Linked DNA regions of Homo sapiens: region 2 is linked to region 1. The links are contacts of gene promoters, found by promoter capture Hi-C in blood cells and fetal thymus (Javierre and others, 2016). All regions are on one chromosome and are shown on one strand. Each heading gives the region's core, a stretch centred on a gene start or on the middle of the fragment in contact. The rest is flanking DNA. Distances are from core to core; before and after follow the strand shown. Region 1 holds the start of MTA1 (metastasis associated 1). Region 2 overlaps BRF1 (BRF1 general transcription factor IIIB subunit).

What was found. The method cuts DNA at HindIII sites, captures the fragments that hold promoters and counts their contacts. A CHiCAGO score of 5 or more calls a contact.
Region 2: a fragment that was not itself captured here is called in contact with the fragment with the promoter of MTA1 in region 1 in 1 of 17 cell types (monocytes); the score reaches 5.1 in monocytes.

The regions. Positions count from the first base shown.
Region 1 is chr14:105,416,922-105,421,557 of GRCh38, forward strand. MTA1 (metastasis associated 1) reads left to right here and starts at 2,906. Exons shown (of 21, transcript NM_004689.4): 1 at 2,906-3,142. The coding sequence starts at 3,115. It overlaps MTA1-DT (MTA1 divergent transcript), which reads right to left and starts at 2,818. Exons shown (of 2, transcript NR_125385.1): 1 at 2,101-2,818; 2 at 660-1,388. RefSeq lists enhancers at 1,103-1,772, 4,451-4,636 and silencers at 2,470-2,569, 2,600-2,649, 2,740-2,999. The HindIII fragment of the contact is 23,301 bases long and covers 1-4,636 here.
Region 2 is chr14:105,251,587-105,256,571 of GRCh38, forward strand. BRF1 (BRF1 general transcription factor IIIB subunit) reads right to left here. Exons shown (of 18, transcript NM_001519.4): 4 at 4,932-4,963; 5 at 921-993. Among named protein-coding and RNA genes, the nearest start is that of BTBD6, 5.5 kb to the left of the region's middle. The HindIII fragment of the contact is 7,870 bases long and covers 1-4,985 here.

The DNA.
Region 1 (4,636 bases), core at 1,656-4,155:
CCGCCCCCAGGCTGGAGTGCAGTGGTGTGGTCTCGGCTCCTGGGTTCATGCAATTCTCCTGCCTCAGCCTCCGGAGTAGCTGGGACTACAGGCACGCGCTACCACACCCAGTTAATTTTTTTGTATTTTTAGTAGAGATGAGGTTTCACTATGTTGACCAGGCTGGTCTCGAACTCCTGACCTCAGGTGATCCTCCTGCCTTGGCCTCCCAAAGTGCTGGGATTACAGGCGTGAGCCACCACGCTCAGCCCAGTTGTGTTTTCTTCCATACTGGGTTTCTCACCGGCCCCTCACACCCTCGATGACTTGTTTTTCTGTTGTTGAATGACATGGATGTGGTCACGTGCCACCTCTCAGCAATGCTCCCACCTCAGCCTCCGGGGATATGCCACTACTTCTGTAGTGCTTTCTGACGTGAAAGCTCTTTCCTGAATGTCTATTCGCTCTGCTACTAAGTGGATGGAGTGGATGGATTTTTTTTTTTTTTTTTTTTTTGGAGACGGAGTCTCGCTCTGTCGCCCAGGCTGGAGTGCAGTGGCATGATCTCGGCTCACTGCAAGCTCCGCTTCCTGGGTTCACGCCATTCTTCTGCCTCAGCCTCCGGAGTAGCTGGGACTACAGGCGCCCGCCACCACGCCCAGCTAATTTTTTCTATTTTTAGTAGAGACGGGGTTTCACCGTGTTAGCCAGGATGGTCTCGACCTCCTGCTCGTGATCCTCCCGCCTCAGCCTCCCAAAGTGCTGGGATTACAGGCGTGAGCCACCGCACCCAGCTGGATTCTTCTTAATTCTTTGTTTTTATTGTTTGACTCACCTGAGGTCTTTGGACTTTGCCTCTGAGCTGGCTTAAGGGCAATCCACCTTGTTCACTGGTCTGGAGTGGGGAGGCAGAGTATGGGTCGGCTGGAGGAGTGGGGCTCTGTGCTCTCTTTTGAGAGTTTACTAAACGTCACTCTGCATGGTGAGGGGTGTGTCCTCTCCGCTGGGGAGGCCTGGCTTGAATTTCAGATTGCCTCCCTGGGACACCAGACCCTGTGCTGTGCTCCCTCAGAAGGACAGCCTTGACTGTCTCCACTCCAGCAGTCAGTTCTCTCCACTCCCACTGGGAGAAGGAGCAAAGGCTGGTGTCTTCAGGAGGCTCCTCTCCAGGCTGGGGCCAGGGAAGAGTGTGCATGTCACTGTCAGGATGTGTCCCAGTGGTGTGGCTGGGTTCTCAGGGTGAAGCTCGTCCATTTCTGGGATGGCAGCGGAAGCAGGCACTACACACGCAGCTTCAGGGGGCTCTCCCCATGCTTCCTAGCTGCCTGGCACTTTCTGGTGTTTCTGGCTAACTTTCTGGCCATGCCAGGAGTTGGTGGAAGGAGATCTCAGGCTGCAGCTTTGCTTTCCTGCTGAGGAGACAGAGGTAGGCTGGGGCTGTAGGACAGGGGAGGCCAGCAGCCCCACCTTCCTTCTGGAGAGACGCTGCCTGTCTGTCATTGCCCCTCTCCTGCACCTGGCCGCTGGCTGGCTGCTCTTCCCTCCCAATCACCAGCAAGCCAGCTCCTGTTCCCTGCAGCCCAGCCCGCAGGATGTGTCCTGGGACCCATAGCCCTCTCTCCCCAGAGACAGCACCGCCCTGCAGCTCGGGTTCCTGGCCCTGTGCTAACCCTGGTGGGGCTTTCCTTACTGGTCTGCTCTGCAGCCATGACATTGTGGCCACCGCTCTCCTTGGGACCCCCACCTGGCTTTCCTCCCAGCACATGCTGTTTCCTACCCACCTGGATGGTGTCCTGTGTGCTGGATTCCCCATGCTGTGTCCCCAGCATCCTGACCATGTCTGTCCCGCCTGCCTAGATCTTGCACCGTGGCCACGGGGCTCCCTCCTGATAGCCCTGAACGCTCCGCTCCATGTCCTACAGAGAGGGATGTCCCAAGTAGATGTCAGCTCCCTCCAGCATCTGAGCAGGCAGGACAGAGACCCACGGTGCTGCTCACATCAGCAGCCTGGAACCCCGAGACAGCTCCTTTTGCTCACCTCCCCCAACACTGATGTTGCACCTGTCTCCAAGCCACTCTGGGACCATCTGTTTCTCTCCATCTGGGAAGCCCCCTTCGCACCTCATGCTCTTCCTGGCTGGGGCGTCTGGGTCACTCACTGGACTCTCCTCTCCTTAGACCTGTGCACAAGCACACACGGGAAGGCATCCTGACAGGTGGTGGGAAGAGAAGGCAGCTGCCTCACTGCGGAAAGAGCACGGCCGCTCCTGGACTCCAGCCCTGTTGGGGCTGGCGGGGTCAGCAGGCGCTGGGTTCCAGCCTCAGGTGGGGTCTTTGGAGGTGGCCTCTGGGCACAGGCACCTCCTCTGCGGCCTTCTCACCAGGTCACGGTTCAGGGAGGCTTTGCCGGCTACGGAGCCTGCCCACACCAAGGCGCGCACGACCACCTGTCCAGAGATGCCACGCGGGCTGGGCGGCGAAGGCCAAGGACACGCCCTGCCTGGTGTCGGGGGCAAAGGTTAGGCCTGGAAGGGAGGTGTGGGGTGGGGACCCCGAGGCCAGGGCTGGGCCGCTGAGCTTCAGGGCCCTTGGGGGGCTCAGGGAGGAATGCCGGAGGACCCCAGCATCAGGAGGAACCCCTGGAGAGCTACGGCAGGACTCACCTGTGGGGCACAGGGAGGGATCACCAGGGAAATGGCCCTTGTGGAGGATCTCCCCTCTACCCCCAGGGCACCAGGGGAGGATCTACCAGGGGGTTCTGGTGGAAGGGCCCACCCGGGAAGCGGCGCGCGGGGAGGACTCGGGGGCGCCGAGAGGAACTGTCCGGGAAGGGGCGCGCGGGCCGCGGGCGGCGCGGGGTCGGTAACGGCCCGTGCGGTGGGCGGCGGCGCCCGAGGCCCCTCCCCGCCGCCCGCGGCCGCTCCTCCTCTTCCTCTCCCGCCCGCGCCGCGGCCCTCCCGTCCCTGCGCGGCCTCGGCGGCCTCGGCGGCGGCGGCGGCGGCGGCGGCGGCAGCAGCGCGGCCCCTTTAAACGCCTGCGGCGCCCCCCGCCCCCGCCATCGCGCCTCCATTTTCCCGGCCGCCCGCGCCGAGCGCCGCGCCCGCCCCGGGCCCCTCCGCCGCCGCCGGCCCGGACATGGCCGCCAACATGTACAGGGTCGGAGGTAAGGCCGCACCGCCTTTATGCCCGGCCCCGACCCGCCCGCAGCCCCCACCCGCCGCCGCTGCCGCCTCCCCCGCCCCTCTGCCCCGCAGGCCCCGCGCCCCCCGCCCGCCCTCGCGGCCCCCGGCTCCTTCCCGAACCGCCCCCCGCCGTGCTCACCCCAACCCAAAATGGCCCCGCGGGTCGGCCCCATCGGGGGCGGGCGGGGCTCGGCGGCCCGGGGGTGGGGGGCGGCCCACCTGTTGGGGCCGAGGGGGCGGCCGCGGGGGTGGCGGGGGGGCGCGGGGCCTGCGGGACATCCGGGGGTCCGGGGCCGGGAGCCCCCAGCGGGAGCACGTGGCCTTGGGAGGCGCCGGCTGCCGGTCTGGGAGCAGGAGTTTTGGGGCTGTGGGGTCTCCCCCGGCCCGCGGCCCTGTGCTGGGACTCCGGTGCATCCCCTCTGGGGATGGGGAGCCCCGGTGAGGGGCCACGTTCCTCCCTAGAGCCCTCCTGCAGCCTGGCCCCGGGGCTTCCCCCAGCAGGGATCCCTCAGGGGGTCTTCAGCAGGGAGCGAGCATCCCGAGCACGCCTCTAAGTCCCCCCAAACTTTTCCCTGCCTCTCGCTCACCTCAGCCCATTCGGGAGGCGCTTTGCAAGGGTTGGGGAGAGGCCGGAGGGCCTCCTGGGCAGGGGCTTCCTCCGTGGGCCCAGCCTCCTGTTGCTCGGGCCCCCCGGGCCTGCAGCTTTGAGCCTTGCCCTCCTTCGTGTGCCTGGGACTCCGTGGGGTCTTTCACAGGAAGGTGGGGGGTCGTGTGCATTCCATCATTCCATCAGCGCCTCCCTCCCCAGGACTCTGAGACCCCTCCCTGCCTGTGACCCTCTCGGGCAGGTGCTCATTACCTTTCCCACCTGCAGCCTGCGCTGCTGGAGGGAGCTGGGGTCACTCCCGCTCTGGCTTGATCCCCATGCCCCTGACCCCGAGTGCCCAGAACACTCTGTGTCTCTCGAGCGTGGCTTCTGCTGCCTTGGACGCCGTGTGGTCTGGCCGGCCAGTCCTGTGACCTTGGGGACGGTGGGAGCCCCCTACATCCCGTCTGTGAGATGGGCGGTCAGTCCGCATCAGCAGCTCTGGGCCTCCCCTGTCCTCTCAGAGGGGCGGTGGGCCTGTACCCCATCCAGCGGCAGCCCCTCCCACAGCCTCATACAGCTTTGCCAGGTCCCTGTGTGGACCCAGGTGCGCTGAGCCCACCCCACGCTCAGGGAGCAGCCTGGGTGCGGGGTCCCTCGAGGGAGGGGCCTGTTCCTTCCTGTTCTTTCTCCCCACCTGGAGACCCCCCTTCCAGCCTGACATGAGGGCCCAGTTTCTCACCCTGGCAGAGAGGATGCCTGCTGCCTGGGCTCCAGCCGGGCCCACTGCGCATGGTTTTGGGATTGGTCCCAAGAAGAGCTCTCCCTGCCCCCACCCATGTTGGGGGTGGGGAGTGGTGGCAGCTTTGGGCTCTAGGGCTGGGGACAC
Region 2 (4,985 bases), core at 2,101-4,600, 160 kb before region 1:
GCATGGGCCGAGTGTATAGCCTCAGCCGGTGCCCCTCTGCTGCTGCAGCCCGTGTTGCTCAGTCCTGTTGGTGACCCAGCCCCACCTGGTGCTTCTCTACCCAAAGGACATACGCTCCTAGATGCAAACAGGCAAAGTAAGAAAGGGGCCTCTAAGCGGGCCATGGAAACCAGTCATCTGCTTGGTAAAGAAAGGGTAGGTCAGAACCATCGGGCAGTGAGTGCTGTTTTGATCCTTTCCTTCTAGACTTTTCCGCTAGGTTAGATTCTGCATGCATGAACACTGCTGCTGCCTCGAGGGAGAGACAGGACTTACCCTACACCTAACACACATCAAGAAAGGCATACAGGAGTTCCACAAACTCGCACACAACACAGAACAAAAGTGGCAGAAAAACCACAAAAGAGGGCTGTGGCTGGAAAGCACAACCAGGAGCTGCCCCACTGTCCCCATCTGTCCAGAGGCACCTGGAGCCAGGTGTGTCCCTTAAACCTTGTCCACACAAGATGCTCCCAGCACGCAGCACTTGTTTCCCTGTCTACACCTTCCTGCCACCTGACAGGCACTGACAACAGGCCTTCTGGTTTTGCAGCAGAAAGCAAGCCCCAGGCCAGGTGCGGTCTCATGCCTGTAATCCCAGTGCTTTGGGAGGCGAAGGCACGAGGATCACTTGAGGCCAGGAGTTTGAGGCTGCAGTGAGCTACGATTGTGCCACTGCACTCCAGCCTGGACAACAGCGAGACTGTGTCTTAGAAAATAAGGCCCCACATTACTGAGCTCCTAGCAGCTTTAAGAAACATTTCTTACCTTGAGGGGTCCCATGCTTGGACAGGATTTCCCTCCACTGTTCAAAGGACATTTGGCACGCTGGTCCCTACAGCAGCCTGCCGGACACCCCAGCATCTCACCCAGATGCCTACCTATGGCCGGCGCATTGATGCAGAGCTCTCTTGCCAAGAGAAGAAACGTCTTTCCAAGCACGTACACATTCACCTGAGATGGAGAGATCACAACCAGAAACAGCATTGGTATTTAAGGAAATGTTTGCTTTTTTTCTCTTAAAATGCATCTCTTGTGCAGTCTTTAAAGACTCCGATGGCCCGTGGAGCAGCCACCCCACACCCGCAAGCCTGGCTGGCCTCCCTTGGCTGCTGGGGCTCCCAGGGCCCTGCCTTCTTCCTCTAAGCCGCTGCTTTAGGCCGTGCTGCCGTCTCGCCAATGATGGCATCTGCTTAGAAGAAAACCTGACTGCAAGGTTCCTCCCAGGGCGTCATCACACGGTGCACGCAGCATTTCATTCACAACTGCACACCCATGAACACAAAACCAGTTCTGTCCACATGTGCTCCCACCAGCCACACCTCCAGCCCAGATTCCGATGGGCCCAGGGGTCTTGGCCTCAGCCCCCTTGCTGGGACTGAGATCTGTGTTCCTCAGTGACTCCCCTGCCCCCCACACTGTTCCTACCTTAGGTCCAAATCCACACAGATCCTGTCACCCCTGCCTCGGCTATCTGCCATAGGGCAGTGGAGGTGAGGCCCAGACCGAGAAGGGCAACGCCGAGGGCTGGCAGTGATGGGAGCACCGCTGCTTGTCCTCAGCAAAACAAGGACTCTAGCCTGTGTGCAGACCCTGTGCACAGCCCTGCCGTGGGCCGAGTACCCCTAAGGAGCCCTGCTGGCTGGGGGAGGACACTTCAGAGCAATGTCTGCTGGCAGGTGTGGATGAGGTGCACAGCGGGAATAGCCTGGTCCCTACTGGAGCCTGCAAGAGCCCTGCCCACACTTGGCTGTCTTCATCCCAGGCTTGCCCCTGGGGCCCCCGGGCCTCACAGGCTTGGCCAGTCTGACCCTCTGCCACTAGCCTCCCCCAAAGAATTCCCTCGCCTGACCAAGCCCGGCTCGTGGGCCCTTAGACAAGTCCCCTTGTCCTGGCCCGCCAGTGGCACTTCCAGGTGCTTGCTGACTCCAGGGTACTGGGAGACCTAAGGGACCGCACACAAAGGGTCCTGTCTGCGCTAGAGGCAAGAGACAGAGGCAAGAGCCAGAGGCAGCGCTTGTGGGGGATGCCTCTGATCAGGGACCCTGCCCGCTGGGAGGGCTGGGCCCCCACAGCAGCTCCTCCTGGTCACCATCCACCCCAGTGGGGCGCAGCTTCCATCTTCTCCATTATATCCGAGGGCTCCATCACAAGGGCTGGTGGCTCACAGAGTGTGCCTTCTGAAGGAATTTCCCCTCCTCACAGTTTCTGGGGGTTCCAGGGATCCCTGGGGTCTGCTCACCAAACTGGGGGGCGTGTCAGCACATGTAGTGTGTGTGTGCATCCGCATGCAGTGTGCAGACATGCATGTGTGTACACACGCATACAGTGTGTCTAGGTGTGACTCACGCATGTCATGTATGAGTGCCCCAGCCCCTGTGCTGGGTTCCTGCCAGGCCCCTGCATCTTGATCGTCCTGATCCCACCATCTCTCTTTAAGCCACAGCAGAACCATGATCTGCTGCTGGCCTCTGCCTGCCCACCTCAAACTCCACACCCCCCAACCTTGTGTCCCAGAGACACAGGGATCAATGAGACCTGAACACTGCAAGTGAGGAATCTCCAAAGGGCCTTTACATGGAAACTCACGTTTAAAAAGCCATGTGTGCAAAACGCGTGCAGTTTTTTTGTTTTAGTTTGTTTGTTTTTGAGACGGAGTCTTGCTCTGTCGCCCAGGCTGGAGTGCAGTGGTGCAATCTCTGCTCACTGCAAGCTCTGCCTCCCGGGTTCACGTCATTCTCCTGCCTCAGCCTCCTGAGTAGTCAGGACTACAGGCGCCCACCACCACGCCCAGCTAATTTTTTTGTGTTTTTAGTAGAGATGGAGTTTCACCGCGTTAGACAGGATGGTCTCGATCTCCAGACCTCCTGATCTGCCCGCCTCGGCCTCCCAAAGTGCTGGGATTACAGGAGTGAGCCACCGCACCTGGCCGCAGTTTTTTGTTTGTTTTCTTGAGACAGAGTTTCACTCTTGTTGCCCAGGCTGGAGTGCAATGGCGCAATCGTGACTCACTGCAACCTCCACCTCAAGGGTTCAAGCGATTCTCCTGTCTCACCCTCCTAAGTAGCTGGGATTATAGGCATCCGCCACAACGCTCAGCTAATTTTTGTATTTTTAGTAGAGACGGGGTTTCACCATGTTGGCCAGGCTGGTCTTGAACTCCTGACCTCAGGTGATCTGCCTGCCTCAGCCTCCCAAAGTGCGGGGATTACAGGTGTGAGCCACCGCGCCCGGCCTAAATACATGCAGTTCTTTACAGAGTTGCTACCATGTATGAGGACCATTTATTGGAAATTCTCTTGCTAACAGTCTAACTGTGGCTGCTCCTTGAGGGCAGGTCAGGGTGGGGCACAGCCAGCTGCCCCCCCCATCTCTCTTCCTGGGCAGCAGGTGGATTCTGCCTGCAGACTGCCCTCGTGGGTGTCTGATGAGCTGTGTGCCCAGGCCAGTGAACAACCTGGGTCTGCCCTAAGGCAGGGATCAAGAGGGAGACTCCATGAGCTCGCCATGGGACCATCTGAGTCCCCAGGAGCCTGACCACTTCCGGAGCAGCTGCCCTGGCCCTGGCCCTCATACTCATCTTCCCTGGGAAGTCGTGGGGTTGGAACCAGGGTCATGTGGTTTTGCCCTGCACTGAGCAGAGAGCATCTGAAATGTGGACTTGCTGGATTATCACAATTCCAGCAGACTATTTTTAGCTTGACCACAAAATGTTTCAGCAGTAGCTTCTGAGTTGCCATTTATAAAGACAGCTGGGAGGACAAGGACCCCAGATGCCACCTGACACGGGCAGAAGCCTAACTGTGGGCTGCTGCCAAAGGCGGAAAGCCCTTGAGGACCAGAGGTGGCAGCACAGCCTGTGGGTGCCCAGAACCCCTGTGGGCACCTGGATCTGGACAGAGCTCCCTTTGAGGAGTGAAATCTACATGAATTCTGCACTGTGGTCACAACTGTTTTCAATATTTCTGAGTCCTCAGCAGCATGGTCACCAAGGACCTGTGGTGCAGCCCCCAGCACCGTCCCTGCAGAGCCTCGGTGCCCCCACCCTGTATCCTGTCTGCACAGGGGTCCCTGGGGTTGGTCTTTCCACTCTGTCACTTTGTTCAGTCATGTGGAAAGAGAGATGTAACTGAAAGTGCTTTCTGTGGTACCCAGAAAGTGAGTGTCTCCAAACAGACTGTAATATAAGATTTTTCTACAATTTAAAATGCATGCAAGAGGCCAGGTATGGTTGTTCATGCCTGTGACCCCAGTACTTAGGGAGGCCTTGGTGGGAGGGTTGCTTGAGCTCAGGAGTTCAAGAGCAGCCTGGGCAACATAGCAAGACCCCGTCTCTACTAAAAATACAAAATAGCCGAGCATGGTGGTGGGCACCTGTGGTCCCAGCTACTTGGGAGGCTGAGGTGGGAGGATTGCTTGAGCCCAGGAGGCAGAGGTTGCAGTAAGCTGAGATCACGCCACTGCACTCCAGCCTGGGTGACAGAGCGAGACTCCATCTCATAAATAAATAAATAAATAAAATGCAAGGTCAAAAGAAATAATCTCCTATACCAAACTAGGTACTCACAAAAAAATTTTTTAATTGAAAATAATCTCCTTTGTGTAGGACAAAAGTTCACTGTTCACCCAGGCCTAGCTAACACCCAACCGTGCCCAGCATTGGCAGGTGCCCTCCTGCCATGGAGACCCACACTCCCACAAGTCTCGGACTGTGACCCCCATGTCATGAAGGCCCCTCATCCTACAGACCAAAACTTCCTGACTGGGCAGGCAGCACAGACCGGCCACTGAGATGCGTGGAGGCACCTGGGGTACACCCCGGTCACAACCCTGGTCACAACCCCCAGGTCACAACCCCAGGTGGGGAAAGATGCAGGACGGAGGCTGTCTACCTGGAGCAGGTCGCTGAGGTCCAGGAGCATGTCTGCAGCAGGAGTCAAGGATCC